Linked DNA regions of Homo sapiens: all the other regions are linked to region 1. Evidence: promoter capture Hi-C in human tissues and cell types (Jung and others, 2019). All regions are on one chromosome and are shown on one strand. Each heading gives the region's core, a stretch centred on a gene start or on the middle of the fragment in contact. The rest is flanking DNA. Distances are from core to core; before and after follow the strand shown. Region 1 holds the start of ZFP90 (ZFP90 zinc finger protein). Region 2 holds the start of VPS4A (vacuolar protein sorting 4 homolog A). Region 3 overlaps SNTB2 (syntrophin beta 2). Region 4 overlaps UTP4 (UTP4 small subunit processome component). Region 5 overlaps TANGO6 (transport and golgi organization 6 homolog).

What was found. The method cuts DNA at HindIII sites, captures the fragments that hold promoters and counts their contacts. A contact is called where the count stands out against the background at its distance.
Region 2: a contact is called between the fragment with the promoter of VPS4A here and the fragment with the promoter of ZFP90 in region 1, in 3 of the 25 tissues and cell types used here (dorsolateral prefrontal cortex, lymphoblastoid cells and mesenchymal stem cells).
Region 3: a fragment that was not itself captured here is called in contact with the fragment with the promoter of ZFP90 in region 1 in 2 of the 25 tissues and cell types used here (bladder and liver).
Region 4: a contact is called between a fragment that was not itself captured here and the fragment with the promoter of ZFP90 in region 1, in 4 of the 25 tissues and cell types used here (H1 embryonic stem cells, dorsolateral prefrontal cortex, lymphoblastoid cells and 1 more).
Region 5: a contact is called between a fragment that was not itself captured here and the fragment with the promoter of ZFP90 in region 1, in 2 of the 25 tissues and cell types used here (dorsolateral prefrontal cortex and spleen).

What each region holds. Positions count from the first base shown.
Region 1 is chr16:68,537,513-68,541,155 of GRCh38, forward strand. ZFP90 (ZFP90 zinc finger protein) reads left to right here and starts at 1,779. Exons shown (of 5, transcript NM_001305203.2): 1 at 1,779-1,967; 2 at 2,246-2,313. The coding sequence starts at 2,281. The HindIII fragment of the contact is 20,432 bases long and covers 1-3,643 here.
Region 2 is chr16:69,309,745-69,313,387 of GRCh38, forward strand. It overlaps VPS4A (vacuolar protein sorting 4 homolog A), which reads left to right and starts at 1,606. Exons shown (of 11, transcript NM_013245.3): 1 at 1,606-1,788. The coding sequence starts at 1,768. RefSeq lists enhancers at 478-1,428, 1,429-2,378 and silencers at 1,321-1,460, 1,521-2,070. The HindIII fragment of the contact is 10,929 bases long and covers 1-3,643 here.
Region 3 is chr16:69,195,047-69,198,689 of GRCh38, forward strand. The region is part of intron 1 of SNTB2 (syntrophin beta 2); the gene reads left to right. Among named protein-coding and RNA genes, the nearest start is that of SNTB2, 9.7 kb to the left of the region's middle. The HindIII fragment of the contact is 9,382 bases long and covers 1-3,643 here.
Region 4 is chr16:69,168,682-69,172,324 of GRCh38, forward strand. UTP4 (UTP4 small subunit processome component) reads left to right here. Exons shown (of 17, transcript NM_032830.3): 17 at 140-340. The coding sequence ends at 256. Among named protein-coding and RNA genes, the nearest start is that of SNTB2, 17 kb to the right of the region's middle. The HindIII fragment of the contact is 7,652 bases long and covers 1-3,643 here.
Region 5 is chr16:69,082,031-69,085,673 of GRCh38, forward strand. TANGO6 (transport and golgi organization 6 homolog) reads left to right here. Exons shown (of 18, transcript NM_024562.2): 18 at 1,455-3,152. The coding sequence ends at 1,631. It also overlaps a transcript of HAS3 not described here. Among named protein-coding and RNA genes, the nearest start is that of HAS3, 22 kb to the right of the region's middle. The HindIII fragment of the contact is 8,371 bases long and covers 1-3,643 here.

The DNA of each region.
Region 1 (3,643 bases), core at 529-3,028:
TCTGCTAATTCCAGACCACTATATTCACAAAGCAGTGATAGAAAGCATTCATTAATTTTTATATATATTTTTTGAGACAGTCTCGCTTTGTCGCCCAGGTCGGAGTGCTGTGGTGAAATCACAGCCCACCACAACCTCTGCTTCCCGGGTTCAAACGATCTTCCCACCTCAGCCTCCCAAGTAGCTGGGACCACAGGCGCACACTATTGCAACCAGTTAATGTTTGTATTTTTTGTAGAGACAGGGTTTTGCCATGTTGCCCAAGCTGGTCTTTTAATTCCTGGGCTCCTCCCTCCTCAGCCTCCCTGTGCTATTGACGTGTTATTTCATTACTTGTTAGCCCCTTGCGCAGGATTTTGTGTTTGGGACAAGCCAACAGTGATGGAAATTTTCTCCCTTTTTTGTTTTGTTTTTTTTGAGATGGAGTTTTGCTGTTGTTGCCCAGGTTGGAGTGCAATGGTGCAATCTCGGCTCACCACAACCTCTGCCTCCCAGATTCAAGCGATTCTCCTGCCTCAGCTTTCTGAGTAGCTGGGATTACAGGCATGCGCCACCAAGCCTGGCTAATTTTGTATTTTTAGTAGAGACGAGCTATCTCCATGTTGGTCAGGCTGGTCTCGAACTCCTGACCTCAGGTGATCCGCCAGCCTCAGCCTCCCAAAGTGCTGGGATCACAGGCTTGAGCCACCGCACCCGGCATAAAGCATTTATTTTTGAATGTTCATATTTTTGATAAAGCAGTGTGACATCAGGAACATTTCGTTGCAGTCATTTTCTACCATGTTGGTATGCAATGCTCTAATGTTAAGAAATCAAGCTGAAATCTAGGAAATGTAGCCTGAATGTCTGTGATATATAAGACATAATTACATAAACGTAATAGCTGTATCTAAAAGTTGACCTATCTTTGTGTTGAAAATTTCCATCGGGCCGGGCGCGGTTGCCCATGCCTGTAATCCCAGCACTTTGGGAGGCCGAGGCGAGTTCGAGACCAGCATGACCAACATGGAGAAAACCTGTCTCTACTAAATATACAAAATTAGACGGGCCTGGTGACGCATCGCATGCCTGTAATCCCAGCTACTCGGGAGGCTGAGGCGGGAGAATCGCTTGAACCCAGGAGGCGGAGGCTGCGGTGAGCCAAAATCGCGCCATTGCACTCCAACCTAGGCAACAAGAGCGAAACTGTGTCTCAAAAAAAAAAAAGAAAATTTCCATCATTGTTTGCTTGTCCCAAACAAAATCCTGCGTAAGGGGATACGAAGTAATGAAATAACACGGCAGTAGATCTGCCTTTGCACATTGCTCAGGAGGCCACGGATTTGTCCGAAGTTTCTTTTTTCTCTAAAATGAGAAATGGAAAATTGCCTTTTGAAGAAGATGTAAATGCCCCACCCTCTGACGCTGTCTCACTCCCTTCCTGTGTCACTCTTACCGCTGAAGTCAGGACCTGACATTATCTTGTTGACATGTTTGCGTTTTTATCGTCAGCCTCGTCGAAAGGGGCGTACGATTGCTCCCCGAAACCAGGGTCTTTCCCGGCCGATTCCCCAGCTAGCAACAAGCCCCTTGCAAAGAGGAGGCGGACAGTGACTGGAATACAGGGACACGCACACTCGAGCCACACTGGCCGCCTCCCTCGGCCCTCGCAAGGGTCCCTAACGCGCCTTCGGAAGCCGCCTAGGCGGGGCCTGCGCGCGCGGGCCTCTGGGAAGTGTAGTTCGCGCGCCCGGCGTGGACCCGGGGTTGCAGGAGCGAGGCTCCGAGTGCGCAGGCGCACTTCCAGTTCTGCCCCACCGCTGCGGCCATTGTCCGACCCCGGTGCGGCTGAGGCCCCTTTGGGCAGCCCCTCCGCAGATCAGAATTGGAGATAACCGAGGCTTCGGCGGGGGCGGGAGGAGCTGCCCGAGGCTCTGGGTGGGCCGGAGGTCGCGAAATCCGGAGCCCCCCAGAGGCGGTGATTCTGAGTGCGCGGGTCTGGGCGGGACCCCTCCTGGGTTTGGCGGGTGTCAGCCGGGCCTCGCCCACCACCCTGCGAAGGGGACTGGGCGTGGCCGGAGGGGGGTGTCCGGGAGGCCGCTGAGCCTTTCATTTCGGGGATGGGGAGCGGCAGGCCCGGGCTGGTTCCACGGTCCTCGCCACCATCTCCCCTGGAGATGTGGTTTAGGGGCGGAGGTGGGGCGGGGCGGGGCGGGGTGGGGTCGGTGTTGCAGCGGGGTGAGTGGGCCCTGTCCTTTCTCCCCAGCTCCTGCCCCGGAGCCGGGCCCTGGCGAGGCAGGAATGGCCCCGAGGCCTCCGACCGCCGCGCCCCAGGTGAGCAACGCGTTCCTAACCTCCTGGGCATCCCATCCATCTATCCATCCCATCTCCCAAGGGTGTTTGGAGCAGTCATTGTTCTCTGCCTGGCGACTCCCTTACTTGCTTGGCTCGATCGGAGCCTCCTGGCCATGGAAAACCCCAGGCTTTGGGGAGCTGGATTCCCAAAGGGGAGGCTGCTCTGTGGGGTAGAGAGGGCCAGTGTGGTGCGATCTTGTGGGAGGAGTTGAGATTGGATGCGTTGGGAAGTGTCAGTTTTGAGAGTCCTGAATGCCACGCCAGTTTTTTGAACTCTTGTCAATAAGAAATGGAGAGAGTGGGGTCACAGGATGGAACACTGTAGAGGAGGAAGTGACTGTCGGCAAGTGTGGAGAGAGGAGCCCCAGCTTCTGACCCAGGGCCCATAGAGAGTCCGTAAGGGGCCGTAGAAGCCTGGTTAGAACATGTCTAGGAAGAGGCTGGAGATGGGCTTTCTTGGGCAAGGAGGCAAAAACAAAACAAAATAAAAAACAACCAAAAATAAAACCAGGGCTGATTCTCCCAGAGCTTTTTGTGTCTGTCCTTTTCTGCTTTAACAAAAATGTAATAGAGCAACTCACTCCCCACCGCCAGAAGTCCAGCCTTCACCTTAATGTGAGGCTGATTCGTGAACCCATTTATTCTTGTGGCAGAGGGGGCATTTTCTAGAAGCGTCACAACTCTAAGGTTATCCATTGATTTACATATTGGTGAAAATACATCAAGATCCAGATGGTATCTGTATCTTTGAATCTACATTCTCTTTAGAATTAAGGGAAAATGACAGATTGTAGTTGCTAGGTGTGTGAGACATCAAGATCAATTCAAATAAAAATACCAAGTTGCCAGGTACAGTGGGTCACACCTGTAAGTCCAGCACTTTGGGAAGCTGAGGCAATAGGATCGTTTAAGCCCAGGAATTTGAGACCAGCCTGGGCAACATAGTGAGACTCCGTCTCTGCAAAAAAAAAAAAAAAAAAAAAATTTAAAAGATAAAAACACCAACTTAGTAATGTCCTTTAAAAGAGCAGTTTATAGTGAATTAAGCATACAATACATCATGCCTTTTTTTTTTTTTTTTTTGAAACAGGGTCTCTTGTCACCCAGTCTGGAGTACAGTGACATGATCTTGGCTCACTGCAACCTCTGCCATGGTGCACGCCACCATGCCCGGCTAATTTTTGTATTTTTTGGTTTATTTTATTTTTTGAGACAGTCTCATTCTGTCACCCAGGCTGAAGTGTAGTGGCATGATCTCGGCTCACTGCAACCTCCACCTCCTGGGTTCAAGTGATTCTCCTGCCTCAAC
Region 2 (3,643 bases), core at 356-2,855, 770 kb after region 1:
TTGTCGCCCAGGCTGGAGTGCAATGGCGTGGTCTTGGCTCACTGCAACCTCCGCCTCCCAGGTTCAAGCGATTCTCCTGTCTCAGCCTCCCAAGTAGCTGGGATTACAGGTGCCCACCACCATGGCCGGCGAATATTTTGTATTTTTAGTAGAGACAGGGTTTCACCATGTTGGCCAGGCTGGTCTTGAACTCCTGACCTCAAGTGATCCACCTGCCTCGGCCTCCCAAAGTACTGGGATTATAGGCGTGAGCCACCGCGCCCGGCCTCTCCTTTGTATTTAATTAGCATTTTGTGAAGAGAGATTAAGGTGTGCCAATTTTTTGGTTTTTTTTTTTTTTTTTTTTTTTTTTTTTTTTTTTTTTTTTTGGAGGCAGGGTCTTGCTTCATTTCCCAGGGTGGAGTACAATGGCCTGGTCACGGCTCACTACAGCCTCGACCTCCCAGGCTCCAGCAATTCTCCCAACTCAGCTTACGGAGTAGCTGGGACTACAGGTGTGCGCCACCATGCCCAGATACGTTTTTTATTTTTTGTAGCGATGGGGGTTCACCTGTTGCCGAGGCTGTTCTCGAATTCCTCGGCCCAAGCAATCGGCCTGCCTCGGCTTCCCAAAGTGTTGGGATTACAGGCATGAGCCCCCATACCCAGCCTCAACTTGGATGTTTTTTGCCCTCCATTTTTTTTCTCTCACAGGATAGACTTGTGGACAAATGGATCACTTGCCTCTGGTGCGTTTTTTTGTTTGTTTGTTTTGTTTTGTTTCTTAATTTAGCGACGAGGTCTTACTATGTTGCCCAAGCTGGTCTTGATCCTCGGCTCAAGCAATCCTCCTGCCTTGGCCTCCCAAAGTGCTGGAATTACAGGCGTGGGCCAGTACACCCAGCCCTAGAACTGCTTTGATCATTGTATCCCCAGAAACTAGCACACAACGCTGCACACAGTAGGTGTGCATGCCTGTAATCCCAGCTACTCGGGAGGCTGAAGCAGGAGAATCGCTTGAACCCGGGAGGCGGAGGTCGCAATGAGCCGAGATCATGCCACTGCACTCCAGCCTAGGCGACAGAGCAAGACTCCGTATCAATCAATCAGTCAATCAATCCAAGCAAAACAAAACTGGCTTTGAACAGTCAGCGGCATCCCACCAGGGATTGAGCCCCAGTGTGGGGCACACTCTGTTTACATTAGCTAGCTCATTTATTCCCCACAAAAGCCAGACAAGGCAGGTACTAATTATGATCGTGCGATATTAAACATGGAGAAACCAACGCTCTGATAAGTTCGTTTTATTGTGAGAATAAAACTGCTCAATGGGCGCTGTTATTCCAAGCGAGGTCAGGATTTCCGGATTCTACCCCGCTCCGCCCCTGGCCCCGCCCCGAGAATGTACGTCCCGCCAGGCCCCGCCCCGGCCTTGTCCCACCCACCCCGTCCCCGCCCCCTGTCCGTCTCGCCCTAGTCCCACCTCCTCGTCCCCAGTCAGTCCTGCCTCTCGAACCGCCCCCTGCCTTCGCCGAGGCAGGGAGAGGTGCCTGCAGTGCGAGCCGTGGACGCTAGGGGGCAGCCGCTCGGCTCGGGCCCGACCGCTCTGGGCTGCGCTCCTCGCTTGCCCTCGGACTCGGCTCCCGCTGCGAGCGGCCGCCCTGCCCGCGCACCGCGCTCAGCGCCCACCGCCGGGCTTCCCGCGCCGGACCCAGTACCTCGGCTCCCCGGGGCCGGACCGAGGCCGCAAGCAGCGCCGCGGGGTGTGGGGCGGACCCAGGAGATGAAATGACAACGTCAACCCTCCAGGTACTTCGTGCGGCCCGGCCCGACTTCGGAGGCCGAAGGCAGCGGGGCCTGCGGGCCGCAGAGCCGGGCGGCGGGCGGGTGGTCAGGTGGGCGCCTCCCAGCCCCGGCCTCGCGACCCCGCTCCGGCCGCCCCCTCGCCGCTTCCGCCCGTGTCTGTTTCCACGCGCTCGGAGCCGGGTGGCATCTCCACCCTCAGGCCTTCCGGCCCTGCCCGGCTGGCCCAGCCCCAGGGCCGCTTCGTGTAGCCGGCGCCCCGGTACCGCCGTGGGGATCAGCCTCACCCGAGCCGCACAGGCACCCTCAGGAAGCTCGGCCCGGGGTCCGGCTGGGCGTTCAGACAGCGATGCTCGCTCCCTCCTCTCCTGTCTCGCTCCCTCCTCTCCTGTCCCGGGTCCTGGAAGTCCCTCGACCTCACTTCGAACAAGCCCCGGCCCCTTCCCCAATCTTCGACTTCCTCTTCTCGGCCAGCGACCCTTCATTCATTCCCTAGATCCTGCAGGGTGGTGCTGGGATGGCGCCACCTGGGTGAACAACTGACCCACCCTCTAGGTGCTGTCAGTCCTGCGGGGCCAGAAGAGATCAACATGCTCAGGCCTCATTCCGGGGTTTGAATCTCAGCTCTGCCACTCACCAGCAAGTGACCTTGGGCTAGTTTTTTTTTTTCATCTTCGGGTCTCGAGTTTCCTGGTCTGTAAAATGGGGTAATGCCCTCTAGGTTGTTGTGATGATAGCTTTAAATTGAATAATTACGGTAAAGCATTCTTGTATGTCTGGCACATAGTAGGTGTCCATTAAGTGACAGCCAACAAAGTGCCTGGGAGAGTTAGGCAAGACTTCATGGAAGAAGGGACATCAGAGTTCCAGTAGCATTCAGAGACCTGGAGGTGGAGGAGGGCAGAAGTAGGAGCAGACATGGAATGAGTTGGGGTACCAGGTTAGGAATTAAGAGTCCATAGCCAGATCCCACCGTACCACCAGCAGAAGCCGCAGATCCCGTCTGCCCAGGCAGGTTTTTTATGGCCCGTGAACCGAGAATGTTTTTCAGTTTCAAACACAGGTGTATTTATTTATTTTTAAATTTTATTTATTTATTTTTTTGAGATGGAGTCTCACTCTGTCACCCAGACTGGAGTGCAGTGGTGTGATCTTGGCTCACTGCAGCCTCTGCCTCTCAGGTTCAAGCGATTCTCCTGCCTCAGCCTCCTGAGTAGCTGGGATTACGGGCACCCGCAACCACGCCCGGCTAATTTTTGTATTTTTAGTAGAGACCGGGTTTCACCGTGTTGGCCAGGCTGGTCTCGAACTCCCGACCTCAGATGATCTGCCCACTTCGGCCTCCCAGAGTGCTGGGATTACAGGTGTGAGCCACGGGTCTGGCCTAAACACAGCTTTATTAAGGTATAACTTGCGTGCTTACCATATAACTCACCCGTTATATATTTTTGTTTTTATTAATTTTTTTTTTTGAGACAGTCTCATTCTGTCACCCAGGCTGGAGTGCAGTGGCACAATCTCAACTCATTGCGGCCTCCGCCTCCTGGGTTCAAGTGATTCTCCTGCCTCAGCCTCCCAAGTAGCTGGGATTACAGGCACCTCCCATCACACCCAGCTAATATTTTTTTGTATTTTTAGTAGAGACGGGGTTTCACCATGTTGGCCAGGCTGGTTTCGAACTCCTGACTTCAAGTGTGATCTGCCCACCTCGGCCGCCCAAAGTGCTGGGATTACAGATGTGAGCCACTGTGCCCAGCGCAACTCACCCATTTAAAGTGTATAATTCAGTGCTTTTAGTATATTCATGGTTGTGTGACCATCACCATAATCACTTTTTAGAATATTTTCATCACCTCCAAAA
Region 3 (3,643 bases), core at 355-2,854, 660 kb after region 1:
GTATTTTATTGGTATTTTGAACATCACATTTCTATGAATTTCAAGCAAGTTTGTAACTGCATTGAGATCATATTTTTATAGGTAGAACAACAAAAGTATATAGAGCTCAACAAAAGTATATAGAGCTCAGGGGCAGCTTTTGAAGTCAGAGACGGAGAAAAATCTTTGTTTATCAAAATAGACGTATATGATTTATTTTTAATTTTTAAAAAGTATCTATTTGTTGTTATTATTTTTTTTTAGAGACAGGGTTTCACTCTGTTGCCCAGGTTGGAGTACAATGGCATGATCATTGCTTACTGCAGCCCTGAACTCTTGGGCTCAGGTGATCCTCTTGCCTTAACCTCTGGAGTAGTTGGGATTACAGGCATGAACTAATTACTGTTCCTGGTTTGCATTTTTTTTTTTTTTTAGTAAGAATTATTTTGGTTGCAGAAACCCAAAACCAACTAATTTAAGCAGAAGTGGAATGTATTGCCTTATGTAACTCCTGAGACCGGGGGTGGATCTAGGTTTAGGTTCAGTGGGATCCAAAGGCTCAAATTATCTTGGCTGCAACATCTCCTGCTGTGGAGGGTCTAATTCTGTATAGTCAGCTAAGATGGTGCCTGCAGCTCTAGGAACATATTGCCTTAACTTAATAACTAACCCCTGTAAGAAAAACTGGAGGGTTCTTTTACCACTCACATTATCAGTTTGGAGATAGGAAGGACTCCAATAGTTCTGCTTTGCCAGTTCCTCGGACCTATCACTATTACCAAAATGATGGAGACTGCAATCTAGACCTGTGTCACGTGCCCATCCCTTGTGTATTGAGGTTGGCAGCCTCACCAGACTATAAAATCTGGAGTGGGGTGGTTGCTAGGTTAACTTATGTACACTATAACAGGCTATAGGGCTTAAAATAATTTTGGCCGGGCATGTTGGCTCACACCTGTAATCCCAGCACTTTGGGAGGTCCAGGTGGAATCACTTCAGCCTAGTAGTTCAAGACCAGCCTGCACAACATGGCGAGACCCTGTCTCTACAAAACATGTAAAAAATTAGCCAGGTGAGGTGGCGAGTGCCTGTGGTCCCAGCTACTTGGGAGGCTGAGGTGGGAGGATCACTTGAGCTCGGGAGATTGAGGCTGCAGTGAGCCATGTTTGAGCCACTATACTCCAGCTTGGGCAATGGAGCAAGACCCTGTCTCAAAAAGAGAAAAAACAAAAGTGGCTAAGTTGTACATTTTTAAAAACAAAAGGAATCAAAATAGATAATAATGACACTTATGGAGAGCTTACTCTGCTAAGCTCTTTATGATCACAACTTTGTTTTTCTTTTCTTTTTCTTTTTTTTTTTTTTTTGAGATGGGGTTTGGCCCTGTCACCCAGGCTGGAGTGTAGTGGTGTGATCTCGGCTCACTGCAACCTCTGCCTCCTGGGTTCAAGCGATTCTCCTGCCTCAGCCTCCTGAGTAGCTGGGATTACAGACACGCGCTACCATGCCCGGCTAATTTTTGTATTTTTAGTAGAGATGGAGTTTCACCATATTGGTCAGGCTGGTCTCGAACTCCTGACCTTGTGATCTGCCCACCTTGGCCTCCCAAAGTCCTGGGATTACAGGCGTGAGCCACCGCACCTGGCCACAACTTATTCTTTTAACAGCCCTGTGAGTCAGGTGGCATCATCCCCATATAAAATATAAATAAATTGAGTCCTGGAAGATTAAACAGTCAGTGCAAGGTTATAGAATTTGTAGGTGATAGAGGCAAGATTAGTTACTCAGATTTATCAAACTACACAGCCTTTGATATTAACCATTATAATAGACTGCCTCTCTGGTGGATCAGTTTGGGTTAAGAAGCTAGCAAGTCTAAAGACAGGATTTATTGTTATGATTGGCTTAATTTTCAGGAAAATTGTGCTTTGGATTCTGTGTTGTTGCATCTATCTGGAGGTTATCCAGTTAATGTCTCTCAGTCTTTTCCTCATTTTTTTTTTTCATGCTGGACCTAAAGCTGTATGTAATTAATCAACTCATATTGAATAACTACACTCTGTTAGACACTCTGAGAGAAATAGAATATGTAAGCCCCAAAGATTTTACTTTTAAGAAGTACCCAAAATGGGTTTGTAAATACTAATAAACTGCACATAAGTGAATCCAAAGTATTTCATACATTATAAGTGGTAGACAAATGCTGAGAGAACTTGGAATAAGTGAGCAAGTAGTAGGAATGTATTTTGGGTCAAGTGAGAGAAGGGTGGGACATGGAATAGGTGTGGGTGGTGGGAAGGATGGAGGGCATGTTTAGAGGGGAAAGGCATGTCTAGAGAGCAAAGACTGGAACAAGCAGTGATGTTCAAACTTCAGCAAACAGATTTGATGAAATAGCCCATTTTCAAGGCTCTGTACCCCTTTTTAAAAATAGTTTAAATATTTTATTAGTAATATAACTGACTTCTGAAATATCTTGTAATAATTGTATTCATTATCTGCAAACTGTTTTGTAATGTAAAAATTAATTTTTCTTTTGTAATTATTCTAGCCAAACTTTTTTGTTACTGCTTTTACTTTTGATATATTACTATGTTATTTTACTTTTGGAAAACACCAGTTTTAACAAAGTAGCATTCTCCAAAGTATATTCATCTTTACAAGTAAATCTTTGCCCAAATGAAACAAAATCTGTTTTACTGAACACTAAATGTCTTTGATTTGCCTCATTTTGCTGTAATTGTTGGCCAGTAAAAGTATTTACATTGTTAGCTCTGTTTTCATTGCAGTAAGGGATGGCAACATTTTAGAAAACCACTAGTAGTGTAGATAATTTTTTTGAGTACTATGGATTCTGTATTGTCTCTTCAAAGATTATTAATTACATTCTAGGATAAAAATACATATTTTTTACAATGAACACAAAGTAATTGAAAAAATTAAACTGGCTCTGGGCAAATACAAATTCTGCTAAAAACAGCAATGAAAGACTAAAGTGAATTCTGGAAACCATTCTTCACCAGAGATGTTTTGATATTGATCTCTGTTGTCCTTTACAATGTAACAGAGTTGATTTTTTTTTTTTTTTTTTTTGGGGGGTAGGGGAACAGAGCCTCGCTCTGTCGCCTAGGCTGGAGTGCAGTGGCAATCTCAGCTCACTGCAACCTCCACCTCGCGGGTTCAAGCGATTCTCCTGCCTCAGCCTCCTGAGTAGCTGGGACTACAGTCCTACACCACCACGCCCAGCTAGTTTTTTGTACTTTTGGTAAGACAGGGTTTCGCCATGTCGCCCAGGCTGGTCTTGAACTCTTGAGCTCAGGCAATCCACCAGCCTCGGCCTCCCAAAGTGCTGGGATTACAGATGTGAGTCCTCATGCCTGGCCTATTTTTCACATGTGTATTTTTGACAAGAGAAATGTCTTCATTGCACGTTCTGCCTCTGCTTCTCTTTAAGGAGTTTGTGTGTGGTTGGTAGGAAGATGTAGTCCATTCTTATTCCTCTACCACTTACATGTTTCCTCCCATTATTCTCTTTATTTCTCATATCCTCTCCTACTTCTTCTGTGCTTGGGTCTGAAAAGAAATCTTTGAGATTGTTAAGACATCTCCAAACATCTGGATGTAGTTACAAAAATTACCTGATTTTTCTTGGGAAAAAATACAG
Region 4 (3,643 bases), core at 840-3,339, 630 kb after region 1:
AGATTGTCAAGAAATTTAAATCATTTGAGCCTTGAACTAGGCTAACCTTTTAGCTTAGATGGTGTCTACCTACAGTCAGTTCTTTCAGGACTAGCCCTGGATCCTAAGTCCTGATAGAATAATTATCATCCCTCTGCAGCCTCTACTCTTCATGGATCTTTTGGATGAAAGAACACTCGTGGCAGTAGAACGGCCTCTGGATGACATCATTGCTCAGCTCCCACCACCCATTAAAAAGAAGAAATTTGGAACCTAAAACAGGGCACTGTCTGTGTCCTTCCTTGAACTGTCTACCCTGTTGCTTTTCACAAATCATGGTAATAAAACAAGTTATTCTTGAGGACTAGTCATTATAAATGTTTTCTTCCAAAATAATGGACAGTCATTTCCCTTCATTGAATGAAAATGAATGGAAATTCCAAATGAGGTATTTGTATTGGGGATAATGTGCTCAGTAGCTACAAACTCATCTAATGTTGATTGAGTCCTGCTTATTCTGTAGGCCGCAATCTCAGAAGAAAAGATATTTGTGTTCTGTTCCCTATTACATGCCTAAGGCTTCAGAGAGCTGATAGCCTTCACTTCCTGCCAGCCCCCAGCCCATGGAACTGCGTAGGAATCTGCCCATCCTCGCCCTGGAGGGCAGAGGACCGTAATTACTTACCCAGGATAGCCTGACCACTAATAACCATAATCAGCCTTAGAGTTCAAGGAAGAATTTCAACTCCAGCATTATAAGGGAGTGCTCCATCTAAAAAATAGATGCCTTTGACCTTTGACAGTCAGCCGTTAATTTTATTTAAAAGTAAAAAAAGCTTGGGTTATCAGTCCCATTAACTGCCTTTTTACCTGTTATGTGCTGGTTTCAAAAGGTATGGAAGGGCCAGGCATGGTGGCTCATGCCTGTAATCCCAGCATTTTAGGAGGCCAAGGTGGGAGCATCCTTGAGTCCAGAGACCAACCCGGGCAACATAGGGAGACCCTATCCCTAAAGAAATACAATATGAAAAAAAAGATACAGGAGCTGGGCACACATCAGTAGTCCCAGCTACTCGAGAGGCTCAGTGGAGCCCAGGAGCTTGAGACCATAGTGTGCTATGATCATACTGGTGAATAGCCACTGCACTCCAGCCTGGGCAACATAGTGTGAGACCCTGTCTCTTTAAAAAAAAAAAAAAAAAAAAGGGTAAGGAAACACTGGGCAGGAATTTTGTTAGGGATTAAGAGTAGAGATGGGGACCCGAGAGCCCACCATGTATTTCACATTTTTCATTCTCTTCTACCTGCTCTGACATTGTTATTCCCACGTGTGTTATCAACTGGCCAGTTTTAATGTGATCTTTAAATTAGAAAGTGAAGAACTCTAGTTAACTAAACTGAGCAGATAGATTTCTTTCCCTTCTCGGGATGTATTCTGTTGCATGCCTGCGTAAACCCAGTTTGTGTGGTTTTTGTTTGTTTTGGGGATGGAGGGCTGAAGTGTGGGCAGAGAAGTGTGTGGGTTCTGATAACATCTTGAATGAAGGGTTGGTGAAAAACATTTTGCTATGATTAGCCCCACCCTCCATTCTGGAAAGGGAAAATAAATGAGGATTTAAGGTAGATGTTTGGGGGGAGAATTAACAGAGAGAGAGAGGTTATAAGAGAGATAAACAGAGCCCAATAATTTATCACATAAAGGACAGCCTATTTTAGGTTTGATAAGAAAGAACAGATATGATAAGATTTATAATGGATGTCTTTGCCTCTGCCCCACCTGTTAGGTTTTACAGTGATAGGAGTAATTTAAACAAATACCTGCTGGGCGCCATGGCTGTAATCCCAGCACTTTGGGAGGCTGAGACTGGCAAATAGCTTGAACTGAGGACTTTGAGACCAGCCTGGGCAACATGGTGAAACTCCATCCCTACAAAACATACAAAAATTAGCCAGGCGTGGTGGCAAGCACCTGTAGTCCCAGCTTCTCAGGAGGCTGAGGTGGGAGGATTGCTTGAGCCCAGGAGGAAGAGGCTGCAGTGATCCCTGAGCACGCCGCTGCACTCCAGCCTAGATTTTTTTGAGACCCTCTCTCAAAGAAAACAAAATACCTGCAACTTTTTAGGTCACCTGTGTAAAAAAAAACTTGCCTCTTGTTGAATACATTTTTTTCTGTAAGGTATATTTTTCCAGTCTGGATTAGACTGGACTATTAGGGACCTTTTTAGTTTACTGAAGATTCTGTCCTTTCTAAGAAATGTTTTAAGTGGTTGAAATGACAAGTTCAAGTTGCTGGTCTACATTGAATACTTGTGAACAGATGGAGGCTAGGATGCCTTAAATAGTAACTCACTTGTGGCCCGGTGCAGTGGCTCACACCTGTAATCCCAGCACTTCGGGAGGCCAAGGCAGGCAGATCACTTGAGGTTCAGGAGTTCAAGCCAGCCTGGCCAACATGGCAAAACCCCATCTCTACTAAAAATACAAAACTTAGCCAGGCATGGTGGCACACGCCTGTAATCCCAGCTACTTGGGAGGCTGAGGCAGGAGAACTGCTTGAACCTGGGAAGCAGAGGTTGCAGTGAGCCAAGATCGCACAGAGCGAGACTCCATCTCAAAATAAAATAATAAATTAACTCACTTGCTTTTCACTCGTTGTAGAGCTGTAAATTCAGAGAATCCTTGTCAACTGGAATCTAGTTTATGGCTTAACTTACTTAAATTCTAAAATCTTGTGGGTTGTGGAGGATGTAATTCTCACAGAGAGAGCCCACAGATCATCTGAATGAGGAAGTAAAAGTTCTGAAAGTAGAAAGCATTCCTTTTCAACTTTTCCAGCCAGTGATTTGTACTTCCTTAAATGGTATGGGAAGTAAGTGCTTTGGGCCTTGAAATTCTTCCGAAGTAGAAAACTTGGAATACAAATGAAGCAGAAACTGACTAGGGCAAGTTAGAGAAATTGGGGGAAGGGAAGGGAGGGGAAAGGAGGGGAGGGAATGTGAGGGGAAGGGACTGTGGGAGAGGGGAGAGGAGGGGAGGGGATGTGAGGGGAAGGGAAGGGAAGGGAAGGAAAACCAGTATTAAAAAAGGGGAACGCTTTAGTGCATGGGTTTCAGGGTGTTTTTACTTTGGGGGTTTGTGTAACCTAGACATTTAAAACGTTTCCCTCTTGGCGTTATGTTTCTGTTTTGGCCATTTTGCATACCTCTGCTCATTCTTGGGTTCTACAGAAAAATTCTGATTTGAAACCAGCCCAGGAACGGTCTTTTTTGCCAATCTGACTCAAATGCTTTAAAAATTCACTCTTCTCATGTACTGGTTAGTAAACTAATCTCTGAATGGATAATTCACATGTACCGTGGAGAGTATAGCAAATTCAACTAAGAAGAACTAAAATCTTGGAATATTGGAAGATAGAGACCATCAAATTTGGGGGTTTTTAGGCTTTCTTTTGAGCATCAACCTTTCTTTAAATGGTACTTAATACCGAACCACAATGTATGCTGTAGATAAAAATGAAGTTATTCCTATTGGGTGGAGATGAAGCAGGAGTTTGTAAAAGAAACGTGACTCTCAGTCTCATTTTTTTTCCTTTTTTTTTCTTCTTTTTTTTTTTTTTTTGAGACAGTCTTGCTCTGTCACCAGGCTGGAGTGCAGTGGTGCGATC
Region 5 (3,643 bases), core at 856-3,355, 540 kb after region 1:
GTGGCGCCATCTCGGCTCACTGGGCTCACTGCAACCTCCGCCTCCTGGGTTCAAGTGATTCTCCTGCCTCATCCTCCCAAGTAGCTGGGATTACAGGTGCCTGCCACCACGCCCAGCTAATTTTTTATATTTTTAGCAGAAACAAGGTTTCACTGTGTTGGCCAGGCTGGTCTTAAACTATCCTGACCTTGTGATCTGCCTGCCTCGGCCTTCCAAAGTGCTGGGACTACAAATGGCAAATTTTTGTATTTTTGGTAGAGACAGGGTTTCACCATGTTGGCCAGGCTGGTCACTAACTCCTGATCTCAAGTAATCTGCCCATTTTGGCCTCTCAAAGTGCTGGGATTACAGGCATGAGCCACCGCACCGGCCTGGTGACAGATTTTTAAAGTAGGGGCAAGGAAAGGTATGACTGCTCAAGAAATAGCCTCCTAGGCCAGGCGGGGTGGCTCATGCCTGTAATAGCAATACTTTGGGAGGCCGAGGCAGGCAGATCACAAGGTCAAGAGATTGAGACCATCATGGCCAACAAGGTGAAACCCTGTCTCTACTAAAAATACAAAAATTAGCTGGGCGTGGTGGTGCGCACCTGTAGTCCCAGCTACTCAGGAGGCTGAGGCAGGAGAATTGCTTGAACCCTGGAGGCAGAGGTTACAGTGAGCCGAGATTGTGCAACTGCACTCCAGCCTGGCAACAGAGTGAGACTCCGTCTCAAAAAAAAAAAAGCCTCCTGGGTTTCATAAGATAATTGCCCGTACTGTGGGTGCCAGCAGAGGGCTTTATGGGGATCTGGGGAGGAAAATGCTGGTAATCATTTGCTCTGGGAGCAACCATATCTGGGCAGTCTTGCCTGTCTGTGGTCCTGAGGTCTCTGCCATGCTTTGGGACTGAATAAAGGAGTCTGGGAACTATGATTTGGCCTGGGAGTAAAGGGGAGCAGAAGCCCCAAGGCCATGTAGCTAGGCATGGGGTGAGTGAGAAACACAATGGGAAACCTATCTCAGTACGAGGGCTAGCGCCACCCCTGCCTCCTTCTCCAACCCAAGATGGCCATGCATTATCTTCTTTTTTTTTTTTTTTTTTTTTCTGCACCGTCATGGCTCACTTTAGCCTTGACCTCCCAGGCTCAGATGATCCTCCCAACCCCAGCCTCCTCAGTAGCTGGGACTACAGGCATGCGCCACCACACCCGGCTGATTTTTGTATATTTTGTAGAGATGGGGTTTTGCCACGTTGCCCACGCTGGTCTCAAACTCCTGGACTCAAGTGATTTGCCTGCCTTGGCCTCCCAAAGTGCGGATTACAGGCATGAGCCACTGCACCCAGCCACATTATCTTCAGGAAGTCTGTGGATGTCCTCACAGATCTCCTCAGGCAGGAGGAGAGGGCAGTTCAGTCGTACTGAGAAATGCCGGCACAGTAGACAGGCGGTCATGGCTGTCTCTCTCATGCAGGTGCTGAGCGCCGTCCTCAAGGATCTCTACCACCTGCTGAAGCACGTAGTGTGTCTGGAGCCCGATGACGTGGCCAAGCTCCATGCCCAGTTGGCCCTAGAAGAGCTGGATGACATCATGAAAAACTTCCTGTTCCCTCCACAGAAGCTGGAGAAGAAGATCATGGTCCTGCCGTAGACCTGGCTCCAAGGACGTGGAGGAGGCAGGCAGGGCCAGGCACCCAGAGCCGTGCCCAGGTCTTCCAGCAGGTGGCCCTGCTGCCTCTTGAGTGCTGGCAGCATGGCTGACCCTCGGGGTGGTTTTATGGTGCAGGTCACTTGGGTCTTCAGGGTCCCTTCCGAGGGCATGTGTTCAGCACTCCCGCGTTCAGCCTGAGGGGTGTACAGTTAAGAGAAGACAGTTACAGATCTCATTAATCTACATTTTTCACTGTCCTCTAGCATTGAAAGAAGGATGTCTACCTGGTGAAAGTATATTTTAACATGACTGATGGAATTTCACTAATTGCCCACTCTCTTGGAACTTGAGGAGAAGCGGTTGGCCACCCATATGTCACCTAGCTCTATATTCTTTCAGGCTGAGATTCTTCTTCAGGAAAATGAGGAGCAGAACTGGCCACCCTTGGCTGCTCAAGAGGCATTTCAGAGTAGGAGATGCAGTTGGAGGTGGGGAGGGGAAGGAAATAGTTATCAAATAATGCAAAATGGAATAAAGTTATCTTGGATGGAAAGAACAGGGCTAAATCTGGTCCTCTGGTGTCGAGATGGAAAACTGTGGAGTTGAAGAGGCTCTGATGCCCAGAAAGGACAATCAAGCTGGTTGACTCTTCCAGAGAAGAAGGGTAAGCCCTGTATTTATCCTCCCAGGCCATTCTTCTTCACTCCTGCTGCTGTTTGCAGAGAGTTGCCCTGATTATCAGGAGAAAAGAACCACGAGCATCCAGAGAGTTTACATCCTGCCTTCTGTCCTCTGCTCCTTCAGAAAGATGAATGCCTAGACAATGGGTTCACACTGAATGCAGGCTGGAAAGAATGCATGCTGGTGGCCTAATGCCAGGGCTGTTGAAACAATTTCAGATATAGCACTGTGGTCTCCACTTTATTTCTTTATATGTTTTGGCCGCTGCATTTTGATTGCAGCTAAAAGAGATAACAGAAAGGAGATACTGGCTGGCTGCTTCATATTAGCCCTCTCTGTTGTCAACACCTTGATGAGGCCAACCCAGAGATGCTTGATCAGTCCTCAGCTTTGCAGGGCTAGGTACAGAATTTTATCACAGGATTTTATCACGCTCTCTGGGGTGACTAGATCCACAGGAACCAAAACGCAGTTTCCAAAAGCTCGAGTGACTGAAGGATCTATACACAAACATGGCTATTTGCTAGTTAACAACAGGATATTTCTCTCTGGCCAGATCACAGACATGGTTCTGAGTCAGATCTTCCTTGGTGGCATCCCTTTAAAGAGGCCATCTTATGAACAGGATCACAAGTGAGCTTAGTGAGCAGAGAGTTAGAACAAATCTAGCTAGGTGTGTTTAAGGAATATTTCCATTCAGCTAGTGTAGCTGGATTAATTTCTATTCTCCAAATCAAGGATGTCTAGAAAATGGGCATTGTGGCTTTCAAATCTAAGAAGAATCTCCTTTGGGCCAGCTGGATGTACAATAAAAATGCTTGTTTCTTGGCCTTCCTTTAACTAGACTCCACGCAACCCACTTCAGACCAGCAGATCGAATGTGTTGCACAATCCATTTTACTTACAACTTCATTTGCATTAACCGCATTCCAGTTCTGAGGACAGATCCTGATTGACCACCTTGATTAGTCTAAGACACTATCTAGTCCAAAATCCTCGAGTGCCTCATGAAGCATCCTAGTACCTTTATCTCTATTTATAGATCACCTCTTAATTTGAACTATTTGGCAAGTGGCTGAAAACATCTGTTCTTTATTGATTTTTTTTGAGGTGGGGTCTCACTACGTTGCCCAGGCTATTCTCAACTTCTGGACTCAAGCAGTCCTCCCCCCTCAGCCTCCTGAGTACCTGGGATTACAGGTATGTGCCATTATGCCTAGCTCTTTATTGATCTATTTCTTCTTTCTTTCTTTTTTTTTTTTTTGAGACAGAGTCTCACTGTGTCACCCAGGCAGGAGTGCATTGGCACAACCTTGGCTCACTGCAACCTC